Linked DNA regions of Homo sapiens: all the other regions are linked to region 2. Evidence: promoter capture Hi-C in 16 types of primary human blood cells and fetal thymus (Javierre and others, 2016). All regions are on one chromosome and are shown on one strand. Each heading gives the region's core, a stretch centred on a gene start or on the middle of the fragment in contact. The rest is flanking DNA. Distances are from core to core; before and after follow the strand shown. Region 1 has its middle 71 kb from the start of SEC11C. Region 2 holds the start of LINC01926 (long intergenic non-protein coding RNA 1926). Region 3 holds the start of ALPK2 (alpha kinase 2).

Region 1 (3,961 bases), core at 1,221-3,720, 250 kb before region 2:
TGGCTGCAGAACGATGTTGGCATGTGAGTCATCTCCCACCGAAGTCCACCCATGTGGCAGTGTTACCCTGAAAATGCCACTGGTCCTCAACAGCTCCTTGGAGGCCTAACGAAGTGAGAGGGTTCAGGTGCCAAAGAAGCCACCAGGGGGCTCCCGAGGAACTCGATGAACTTCGGCGTTCACTGAAAAGCCAATTAGGCTGCCTTCTCACAGCGCGGCTGTTGAGCCTTGGCGCCCCACTCCCTCAGGTTGGCTTCTTCAGCAGAGGGACCAGACCTCAGGGAGATGAGGTCTCTCATCTCATCATCCTCAGGGAGATGATCCCCGTGGCTGGCTGGCAAGGCCAAGGTTAGCTGTCCGTGGCCATCAGAGTGTGTGAAACGTTCAGCCTTCCCCTCCCCACCCACATTGGTCATCTTTGCAAACGCACTGGACAGCAAAGAGCATCCTCAGATGTGGCGCATCCCACGCTAATAAGGACCTTGTAGCCTGCGGTTGTTAATACTTTAATGAGTAAGTACACAAAGAGCTTTATTATAAGCGATGGAATGGACTTAATTAATCCATAACTGTAGACAGTTAATGCATAATTATACACCTAGAAAAAACACACATCCGAGAGCCTGGATCCTAGCATCTCTGTTTGGCCTTGCGAGTCTCTCCTCATCTCTAGGTCTCATCGCTGCAAATTGAGGGGGTTGGGCTGGAAACCACTGGCTGAGGTCTCTTCCTTCTCTGTTAGTTTTTGTTGAGGCCCTATGTTGGTGCATAGGGATATCCATCTATCTAGGGCTGCTGTGACAAAGTACCAAAAACTGGGTGGCTTGAAACAACAGACATGAATTATCTCACAGTTCTGGAGGCCAGAAGTCCAAAATCGAGGTGTCCCACGGGGCCATGCTTTCTCGGGCAGCTCCAGGGCAGACTCTGTCCTTACCTCCCCCGGTTTCTGGGGTTTGCCTTGGTGTTCCTGGGTTTGCACATGACTGTCTTCTCCCTGGGTCTTCACATCGTCTTCCCTGTGTGTATGCCTGTCTCCGTGACCAAACTTCTGCTTATTATAAGGACACCAGTCATACTGGATTAGAATCTCCATCCCCAGTGACCTCGTTGGACTTCATTATCTCTATAAAGACCCTGGCTCCAAATAAGGCCACATTCTGAGGGAATGGGAGTTAGGACTTCAACAGAGCTTTTGGGGGAGGGGATACAATTCAGTCCAAAACAGGGACTATGGTGAAGAATAGGTGATATTTGAAAGGCCCTATAATGACAGACCCATGAAGTATGCATGCTAGCGGGTCATACCACTGAGGTTCTAGGATAAAGTTACAAGTCTGCAAAGACGCCATAATAACACATAAACAATTCTGTCGTGGGAAAGTGCATACTGCATGTTGTAATTTTACAGAGAAAAGTGAAGAGCATAACCCAAATGAGCTTCATAACCCAAATTACATTAAATGCACGACATTTAATCATTTCCTGTGATCATTGATACAGACAATCAAATGGAGTTTAAACCAAAAAGAAATCCAGTTTCTGTTGTTGTTGTTGTTGTTGTTTGCTAAAATGGTACAACAGAAGTTTATTATTGTGCTACTAAAAATTTAGAGAACTCTCTTACATCATAAGAACTAAGAACTCTTTCACATATTAAATGCAAAGAAAATGTATATATTAAACTTTCACAAAATGAGATTCACACCCCTTCTCGGGAATACAAGCATTCATCACCTAGATAAGGCCACCTCATCTTTGCTCGTCATTACCAACAAGGCCCATCCATTCTTTTGTGTTTTAACCAGAACATTCATGGCCCAGCAGGTGCTGCTTCAGTTCCTGACATGGTTTCTCAATGAACAGCGTCAGGGCCAGCCCAGTGACGAAGGTCAGCACACGGTGTCCAGAGAAAAGATAGAACTGGAGAGAAAGTGGGCAGGGTGAACACAGTTTTACTCTGGGATTCCTATTGTGTTCAGATCTAAAGTGTACCATCCTAGCTCTATGAAATGCATCTGTAGGACAATCAGTGCTACATATTAAAAATAAAATAAATAAAATAAAAGATATTATCCTGTGCTGAAGCCCTCCCTCTTTCTGCCACAAATAAAGCAAAGAACAATGAAGCTCTTAAAAAAAAAAAAGACTTCCACGAAAGCAAATAGGTTGCCTTGTTGCTCAAGAAGAGAACAAGCTATGATACCATAACCTACCGTAACAGAACTAGGAGCTGCGTGCTAACTCACCATGTTGGTGTCAGTGTGGTGAATAAGTGTTTCCTGAAGGCCATTGTAAAGGATGATCAGAATCGGATGCACCAAGTAGCGAGCATAACTGATGCTGGACAGGAAACTCCAGATGTCCCAAGAAAGCACACGGTTCACCAGACCTGGAGGGAACAAGCACTGATGCATGAAGCCACAGCCTGTCTCTGGGCCAGTGAAGATGCCCATCATCCCATCGATGCTCCCATTGCATTCTGTGCCTAAGTCTGTGAACTTTTCCTAAGAAAGTCTTTATGCGTTATCATTTTAAGACAATGTACCAAACCAAAAACCACCTTTCTGTTGCAAGAATTATGATAACACAAGAGAGATACATGGTTTCAGCCCCTGAGCATAAAACATTGCATGTATAAAACAAGGTAAAAATTCCTCATATTCACCTGGGTTCTGGATCAAGATGCAGCCACAGGGGGGCGTTGGGATAAGGCATTTAACATTGCCAGGCCTCAAACTCTTCTGTCAGTGAGAGGCTTGCATTTGTAGGTGCCTTTCAGGACAAATATTCTGTAACTTGGTATATATTCTAGAACTGTGTTGTCCCAGACAATAGCCCCTAGCCACTTGTGGCTATTTAACTTAATTAAAATTAAATGCAATGAAAACTTCCTTTCTGAATAGGACTTATTGCTATCTCTAGTGAGTTGCATAGTGATCTTTCAAAAGATATGTCCACCCAGAACCTCAGAATGTAACCTTATTTGGAATAAGGGTCTTTGCAGATGTCATTAAGAGAAAGAACTAGAGATGAGATCATCCTGGATTAGGGTGGACCCTAAACCCAATGACAAATGTCCTTATAAGAGACAGAAAAGGAGACACAAATGCAGAGGAGAGACACAAGGAAGAGAACCATGTGATGACGAAGACAGAGACTGGAGTGAAGAGTCCATGAGCCAAGGAATGCCAAGGCTTGCCAGCAGCTACCAGAGGCTAGGAGAGGGGATGGGACAGATTCTCCCTCAGAAAATCCAGATGGAACCAACCCTGCTGACACTTCGATTTTGAACAGCTAGCCTCCAGAACTGTGAGAGAAAAAAATTTCTGTTGTTTTAAGCCACAGATATAAAATATAACTTCTGTTTCTCCTTTGCACAAGCCTCATTAAAAGTGCTCAGTAGTGAATCACAATTTGCTCAGGATAAATCTTTGGAGCCTTCCCAGACTCCTTTCATTCCAGACTCCATAGAGTGCTTCCAAAAATATGTCTCAAATCAGACCATTGCTCCTCACCTCCATGGCTAACACCCTCGTGAATCTTCCATCACCTCCTGCGTGGGCCTCCATGGTAGCTTCCCAGTGGATCTGTTGGTCTCTGCTCTTGTTCTTGCCACCTTATAGTCCCCACACCACATCCAGAGTAATCTTTTAAAATCACATATCAGGGAGAAATGGGGAAGGGGGAGATATTGATCAAAGCGTACAAAGTTTCAGTTAAACCGATGGAGTAAGTTTTAGTGATCTATTGCACTGCATAGTGACCACAGTTAATAATAATGTACTGGATATTTTTCAATGGCTAAAAGAAAAGATTCTTAACATTCTTACCACAAAAAAGAGATAACTTGGTGAAGTGATGCCTATGTTAATTAACTTGATTTCATCTTTCTACTAGGTATACATATACCAAAACATCACATTGTACCCCATAAATACAGTTATTATTTGTCCATTTG
Region 2 (3,974 bases), core at 498-2,997:
TCAGAAGTTCGAGACCAGCCCGACCAATATGATGAAATCCTGTCTCTACTAAAAACACACAAAAAAATAGCCAGCATGGTGGAATGCGCCTGTAATCCCAGCTACTTGGGAGGCTGAGACAGAAGAATCCTTTGAATCCGGGAGGCAGAGGTTGCAGTGAGCAGAGATTGCGCCATTGCACTCCAGCCTGGGCAACAAGAGCGAAACTCTGTTTCAAAAAAAAAAAAAAAAGACTATGATTATCATGCATGGGGTTAGGGATGGGGGTGCAGGAGATGAGGTAAATTGGAGGTAGATTGGGGTCGGATTGGGAGGTGAATTTCTGCCTATTCTGATGAAGAGTCATCAGTGCTTCGCAGGCATGGCAGTGGCATTACAGATGTGTTTTGGAAGAAAATTCAGGAACAGGGAAGGGTTGTAGTTTGTAGCTGTCAGATGCAATGAGGCAGATTAAAAGCTAGACAATTTAGGCCAGTCGCGGTGGCTCATGCCTGTAATCCCAGCACTTCAGGAGGCTGAGGTGGTCAGAGTGCTTGAGTTCTGGAGTTCAAAATTAGCCTGGGCAACATTGTGAAACCCTGTCTCTACTAAAAACATACAAAAATCAGCTAGGCATAGTGGTGCACACCTATAGTCCTAGCTACTCGGGAGGCTGAGGTGGGAGGACCACTTGAGCCTGGGAGGCAGAGGTTGCAGTGAGCCGAGATCACGCCACTGCACTCCAGCCTGGATGACAGAGCGAGACCCTGTCTCAAAAAAAAAAAAAAAAAAAGAAAGAAAGAAAAAAAAAGAATGACCTTCTCTTTTAAGGCTGAACTCTATTCCATTGTATGTATGTTCCACATTGTGTTTCTCCATTCGTCTATCAGTGGACACTTAAGTTGCTTCCACAGTTTAGTTGTTAGAAATGTGGAAGTACAAGTATCTGTTTGAGTCCCTGTATTAGTCCGTTTTCACACTGCTATAAAGATACTGCCTGATATATTACCTGAGACTGGGCAATCTATAAACAAAAGAGGCTTAATTGACTCGCAGTTCCCCATGGCTGGGGAAGCCTCAGGAAACTTATGGTCATAGTGGAAGGCAAAGGGGAAGCAGGCACCTTCTTCACAAGGCGGCAGGAGAGAGTGTGAGTGAAGGGAAAGCCCCTTATAATACCATCGAATCTTGTGAGAACTTACTGTCATGAGAGCAACATGGGGGAAACCAGTTCCATGATCCAATCACCTCCTACCAGGTCCCTCCCTGGACTTGTGGGGATTACAATTCAAGGTGAGATTTGGGTGGGGACCCAGAGCCATGCCATATCAGTGCCTGCTTTCATTTCTTTTGGGAACATACTCTGAAGCATAATTGCTAGATCATATGGTAATTTTAGGGTTAAGTTTTTGAGGAACGTCATTACTGTTTTCTACAACAATGGCGCCATTTTACATTCCCACCAGCAATGTACAAGGATTCCAATTTCCCAACATCCTCACCAGTTGTTATTTTCTGTTCTGTTTATTTGGATATTAGCCATCCTAATGAGTGACAGTGAAATTTTACTTACATGAAGGATCTCATTCTCCACTGATACCCACGAAAACAAAGGGGACCATTCTGCACTTGGCTGAAGTGAGCATTTTCTCATCAGGAGAGGAGTAGCCCAGGGGATGTCCACTGGAGATAGGGTGGGCGCCCTCCACTCCATCTTCCCTTCTTGGAAACTTGGAGAATTTCTTGTGTTATTCTTGGGACTGTGATGTGTATAAATAGAATGGGATGAGGGAAAAAGAAAAGGTTGAGAGCCAGTTCAGAAAGATCCTTGTAATATATTTTGTTGATCTTACTTTTTCAAACTTGTACAGCTTGATGGCTGTGAGCAAATATTTCCACTAGGAATCTGTTGACATTTCCACCACTCTTCTCTTCTTTTTCTGTTCTGTTTTTTTTTTCTGCCTAGTCTTTCAGTGTCAATCTTGTCTTAATTTCAGCATGCATTCTGTCCTCATGCATAAATTAGGTATGGTTTTCTGCTCTTTATTCGAAATTGCCTATTTCTATTGTAAATTACACCAATCATAATTTCCAGTTTACCGCTTTTCTCCAGACATTTTTGCTTTTAATACAAATTCATAAATTAAAAGTCAACTACTCTCACTCCCAAAGATTAAAAAGATAAAAGCCTGTAATTTGGTGGACACCGATCATCAAATATGCATGTTACACTGAAGAACTGGCTTTGCAATTCTGCAGCTGTACTCTTGGGTTGGTGATGAAGAAGACAGTTATAGGGGATCCCGAGCTTTCAGCATCTCAGTAGTGCCAGTACATCTGGAATCCAAGACAAAATGTGAATGCAGGCATCATGAAGCAGAATTCGAGCTGTGCGGTAATCAGCCAGATGATCTGCAACACACAGATGCTAGCTTTTTTTTAGATAACCACCAAAATAGAAACACAAATTTTACACTCAAAGAACACTCAGGGCCCTTAGTGGAGAAATAGCTGCATCGTGCCAGTTATGAATTCTGTTGTTTTTGGTGGTCACAATTTATCATAGCCCCACTTAACCATGATTTCACTTTCCATGGTTTCAGTTACCTTCCGTTAACTAAGGTCCAAAAATATTAAATGGAAAATTCCAGAAATAAGCAATTCATAAGCTTTAAGTTGCACCTGCCATTCTGAGTAGTGTGATGAAGCCTTGCACCTGCGGTGGGATTCCTCCCTTTGTCCAGCATCTCCATGCCATAGATGTCCCCACTCATGAGTCACATCGGAGCCCTCTCAGTTACCACATCGGCTGTCTCTGTATTGCAGTGCTTGGGTTCAAGTCATTCTTATTTCACTTCATGATGGCCCCATAGCGCAAGAATACTGATGCTGACCGGGCGTAGTGGCTCACACCTGTAATCCCAGAACTCTGGGAGGCCGAGGTGGGTGGATCACCTGAGGACAGGAGTTCAAGACAAGCCTGGCCAACGTGGTGAAATCCCATCTCTACTAAAAATAGAAAAATTAGCCAGGGATGGTGGTGCATACCTGTAATCCCAGCTATTTGGGAGGCTGAGGTAGGAGAATCCCTTGAGCCCAGAAGGCAGAGGTTGCTGTGAGCTGAGATCGTGCCACTGCACTCCAGCCCGGGCGATAGAGCGAGACTCTGTGTCAAAACAAAACAAAACAAAAAAATTAGCCAGGCATGGTGGCATGCGCCTGTAATCCTAGCTTTGCGGGAGGCTGAGGCAGGAGAATTGCTTGAACCTGGAAGGTGGAGGTTGCAATGAGCCGAGATCACACCACTGCACTCCAGCCTAGGCGACAGAGCGAGACTGTCTCTGAAAAAAAATAAATAAATAGCCGGGCGTGGTGGCTCACGCCTGTAATCCCAGCACTTTGGGAGGCCGAGGCGGATGGATCACGAGGTCAGGAGATCGAAACCATCCTGGCTAACATGGCGAAACCCTGTCTCTACTAAAAATACAAAAAAATAGCCAGGCGTGGTGGCGGGCGCCTGTAGTCCCAGCTACCCGGGAGGCTGAGGCAGGAGAATGCCGTGAACCTGGGAGGCAGAGCTGGCGGTGAGCCAAGACCCCGCCACTGCACTCAAGCCTGGGCAACAGAGCGAGACTCTGTCTCAAAAATAAATAAATAAATAAATATATAAATATATAAAATAAAATTATGAAATCTGCAGTGGGGCCAGGTGTGGTGGATCATCCAAAGAAGGGTGGACAAGGGCTTAAATTGTTAGAAAACTCACTTGAAATGGGAGGTGTGAAAGTAAATATTTGCAAAGATAGATGATATTCCACAGCAGCCTGAATGGAGAGTGACATTTGCTCAGAAAGAATCCCGGATTATAAATATGACTAACAGAGAAATGTGCCTATTATTTCACCATGTTTTGGCAGAAGAACTTCAAAAGAAAATCTATTATAAGGTTATCAAGCTTCATTAGTACAATTAACTGTTTTCAAAATAGGCCCATT
Region 3 (4,304 bases), core at 767-3,266, 180 kb after region 2:
TTTGAGGTTTTTTTTTTTTTTTTGAGATGGAGTCTTGCTCTGTCCCTCAGGCTGGAGTACAGTGGAGTGATATTGGCTCACTGCAACCTCCACCTCCTGGGTTCACACAATTCTCCTGCCTCAACCTCCTGAGTAGCTGGGATTACAGGCGTGAGCCATGACACCCAGCTATTTTTTATATTTTAGTAGAGACGGGGGGTTTCACCATGTTGGCCAGGCTGATCTTGAACTCCGGACCTCAAGTGATCCACCTGCCTCGGCCTCCCAAAGTGCAGGGATTACAGGCCTAATTTGAGTTTAATTCCAAGATTTCTGTTTCTGATTTTCTTTCATGCTTCCTCCCCGACACCTAAGATTAAAACATAAATTCTGTGGCTGTAAATTCATGAGATGAATAAAACAAATACAGTTAAATCCATTATATGTATGTATGTACGTGTGTGTATATATATGCATGTATGTGTGTATGCATGCATGTATATGTGTGTATGTGTGTGTGTGTGTGTGTGTGTGTATCTATATATGCACATATATAAACCTTCTGCTCTTTACATTTATTTTGCTAGGAGATGAATGTTGGGAGTTGAGGGAATTGGTTTTTCAAATTATTTCAGAGGAACAAAATTAAGTTTCATAGTGAATTTCAACTTTTCCATTTAATAACTCCCAGGCAACACTTCTTTCACAACCATATCACATTTATCTATTGCTTTGGGACATTCCTTCACTTTTGACTTTATTCTCTCTGTGGTGTGCGACAGCATTTGTTTATTCTTTATCATCACACTTTCCTCCTCTCTTCATTCCCAACTTGAAGTTATCTCCTCTTTCTTATCTGGAAAAGACCTTACATTGTGAAGACCTCAGCTTTCCATAAAGCCGACCATTTGCAAAGAGTTGGTAATTTCTGTGTTCTGTGGCATTTCACAGATGTGTTCCCCAGGAGATAGTCATTATTTTACAGTGCCTCAGCTTTAATATCTTTTTTCTCACATGAAGATAAAACTGAAAAACAGAACATATCACCCCTACATTTCTTAATATTTTATCGTTTTAGATGAGTTTTCATCTTGTGAAAAGTTGCATTCCATCAAGGGATAATGATGTACATTCTGTGCTGTGTAAAAACAATTTGCTTTTGAGGATTGCAGTGCCCTACACAGAGTGAATATTTACAGCTATGTCCCTTTCAAAGTCACCCCTGGAGCTGCTAATTTGAGCTGTCTCCACGAGTCTCAAAAGAGGTTTCTGTCTAAGCTGTCAATTTCCAGGTGTCATACATTAAAATATTTTTGGGGAGAGGCTAAGTAGTTACAGAATGATGCTAAAGGATTCTCTATGTTTTTGGACTTGGATAAACTTCAATAAAAGAATTGCCCATATTACAAAATCTACTTTCCCAACAAGAACCATTCCAGGCAATCTGAAGGAATAGGACCTGTGGTATTTCTTCTGTGGATTTCTTCTGATCTTTGTCTGTTCTCTTCTATCGTAGTCAAAATAGGAAGGGGTGTGTGTGTGTGTGTGTGTGTGTGTGTGTGTGAGAGAGAGAGAGAGAGAGACAGACAGACAGACAAGGGGTAAGGGGGGGTAAGCAGGGTGAGGAGGGTGGATCCTGCCTTCCTTCTGTGGCTTCTGCCTTTCTCAGAGAACTTCAGAGGATGGCTATAATGCCTGTTCTAAATGAACAACATATGACACATATTTTCACCTCCCCAACACCCCCTCCACGGGTTTCCTATGTGTACTTCAAATGCCTGATAACCTTGGTATGAGAACTGGTTGTGTTACTCCGGCCTTAATCCCTTTATCAGGCAGCAAGTTTTTCCTTTCCTAAGGAGCGAGCAACTAAGCCCAGGGTCCAGCATGGGCTTTGTAAAGAGCTGCTCGGTCTCCTGAGCAGCAGCCAGTGACAGCTCGTCTGGGTTTCATCAGCTCCCTGGGGCTGCATTTCACCAGGCCCCCTTGCCAGGGCCTCCCCAGCGTGTCGTGTCAACAAGTGTCGCACCTACTGCAGAAACAGCCCTCAAGTTTCATCACAGGGATGCTAAAATATATTCTCCAGCTTCAGCAATGACCTAGTTCACTGAAGGGCGGGGAAAAAATGCTCTTCTTCCAGAACTTCCCCGGGCATGGAATTTCCCCTCTTAGGAAGAGATGAACTTTCTGGAAGCAGACCCATCTATGCTTTGACCTGATCATGGAAGACCCTGAGCCCTATAAACTCCTTTGAATCCCTGTCCCGGGAACAGGGACACCCAATCAATGCCTCACACACAGCCTGGGGAATCCACAGCTGAGCCAGCCCTCCTACAACATTTCTTGGACAAAGAGTACTGAAAAGTAAGTATGTAGACTTTGGTTTTTACATAAGGAATGGCTGTGCTTTCAATATATAGTTGTTTACATTTTCTGCAACAAAGAACAAAGCAGATGGTTTCCTGATGAAATAGAATGAGATGAAACCAATAGGGATTATATGGGATATTTGGGCATATAAGGTTTTAAAGTGGGCAAACTCTCATGGTCTTGTAATTTAAGTCCATTTTGACCCTTTTTGAAAATTATTGCTATTTTTAAATTTGCTTATTTTGGCTTGACAATAATGAATGAAAACAGTTTCTTTCACATCATGTCTATCTTAACAGTTAGAAAAAATATACAGAATGACTCAAACGAGTGATATGTAAAGTTTTGCAAAGCAACATAAAAAGTCAACTATCCAGGTAACTCAGGCCCCAGAGACTTTTGTCTGAAATATTTGAGTATTTTAGTCAAGAGTTATTCCTTTTACTGTGAATTAACTGAATGATTGAAAATCTCTCCTATCTGGGTAGACACAGGAGTATATTGTCTGACAACAGGTAATGCAATTTGCTGAAAAGCTATCAGGCTTTTCAAAATGGCTGATGTAAACATTTATCGAGTTGTTAAATAGATTTAAAAAAAAATTTAAGGCAAAAAGTCAGCCAAAAAAAAATCCATCAATTAAATGCCACCACTGTCACATTACAATTTAATGAACACATCTAAACTTTAAAAGCCTTGATTAAGGGTGTCAGTTACAGACATTTGGCAATCATTTAAAAATAGATAAAAGCAAGAACGGCATTTAGAGCTGCTTCTGCTCTAATTATTTTCTTTCCACAACCTTTTCCTTAAGTAAAGGTAGCCTTTATTTCTAAAGATTAATTAACCAGGAATGGTCATTCCAGAGATATGTGATATGTTTTATAACTCTATATCAACTAAGGACAAATTGAAGGGGTTTTTTGCTGTGTGGCTTCTGAATTGAAACCAAGGATGTTGTGGGTTACCTTCCGAATCAACAACTTCACAAATCCTGTATTAAAAAGCATGGATGGCCAATAACCATGTTCAGATCTTGGAAATCAGGACTTAAAACAAACTAAATGAACTTTAGCTCCCAAATATACATTGTCCTTTTTTTGTTTTGTTTTGTTTGTTTGTTTTTTGTTTTTAGATAGAGTTTTGCTCTTGTTGCCCAGGCTGGAGTACAATGTCTCAGTCTCAGCTCACTGCAACCTCCGCCCCCTGGGTTCAAGCGATTCTCCTGCCTCAGCCTCCCAAAGTAGGTGGCATTACGGGTGCCTGCCACCATGCCCAGCTAATTTTTTTTGTATTTTTAGTTGAGATGGGGTTTCACCATGTTGGCCAGGCTGGTCTTGAACTCCTGACCTCAGGTGATCCACCCGCCTCGGCCTCCCAAAGTCTTGGGATTACAGGCGTGAGCCACCGCGCCTGGCCTACATTGTCTTTTTGATGTTTTTACCAAACATTTAATCATAATTTTGGGAAGCTTTTAGGTAGGGCAGAGTTCCTATTGTCATTACCTACAAAGTTTTTTTCTCCTCCAGTTTCATGAGTTTTTAACAGCCTCCTGAACACTTGTGTGTAGGTATCAGCCCCTGTGATGCGATGCAGTTGAGTTAGTATCTTACTCTGGATGGAGGTGGGAGAAGCAGGGGAGGTCCTGAGAAAGGCTTTGGAGTCAGATTTGGAATCGACTCCTAATTTTAGCATAACTTTTCAACCTGTTTGAACCCCAGTTTACTCATCTGTAAAATCTTAACAGTATTCACTTTAACAGGATTGATGGGGGATTAGATGAATAAATATACCTAAAGTATGTGTCGAATCATAGTTTCTCAATGAAAGTTAGTTTTTCACCTTAATTAAAAGCTTCTGTCTTTTTTTTTTTTGCTAAAACTTTAGAATACTACCATAAAATAAACTATATAAAGTAATAGAAACTATACATTATCTGCATCAGTGCAATACAA

What was found. Contacts are between HindIII fragments. The CHiCAGO score rates a contact against its expected background, and 5 or more counts as called.
Region 1: a contact is called between a fragment that was not itself captured here and the fragment with the promoter of LINC01926 in region 2, in 12 of 17 cell types (total B cells, monocytes, naive B cells and 9 more). The highest score is 9.9, in total B cells.
Region 3: a contact is called between the fragment with the promoter of ALPK2 here and the fragment with the promoter of LINC01926 in region 2, in 11 of 17 cell types (neutrophils, monocytes, total B cells and 8 more). The highest score is 9.8, in neutrophils.

What each region holds. Positions count from the first base shown.
Region 1 is chr18:59,066,803-59,070,763 of GRCh38, reverse strand. It overlaps the pseudogene OACYLP. Among named protein-coding and RNA genes, the nearest start is that of SEC11C, 71 kb to the left of the region's middle. The HindIII fragment of the contact is 8,599 bases long and covers 1-3,961 here.
Region 2 is chr18:58,811,653-58,815,626 of GRCh38, reverse strand. LINC01926 (long intergenic non-protein coding RNA 1926) reads right to left here and starts at 1,747. Exons shown (of 3, transcript NR_146904.1): 1 at 1,553-1,747. The HindIII fragment of the contact is 11,966 bases long and covers 1-2,650 here.
Region 3 is chr18:58,626,803-58,631,106 of GRCh38, reverse strand. It overlaps ALPK2 (alpha kinase 2), which reads left to right and starts at 2,016. Exons shown (of 13, transcript NM_052947.4): 1 at 2,016-2,343. RefSeq lists an enhancer at 1,457-1,999. The HindIII fragment of the contact is 8,777 bases long and covers 1-3,822 here.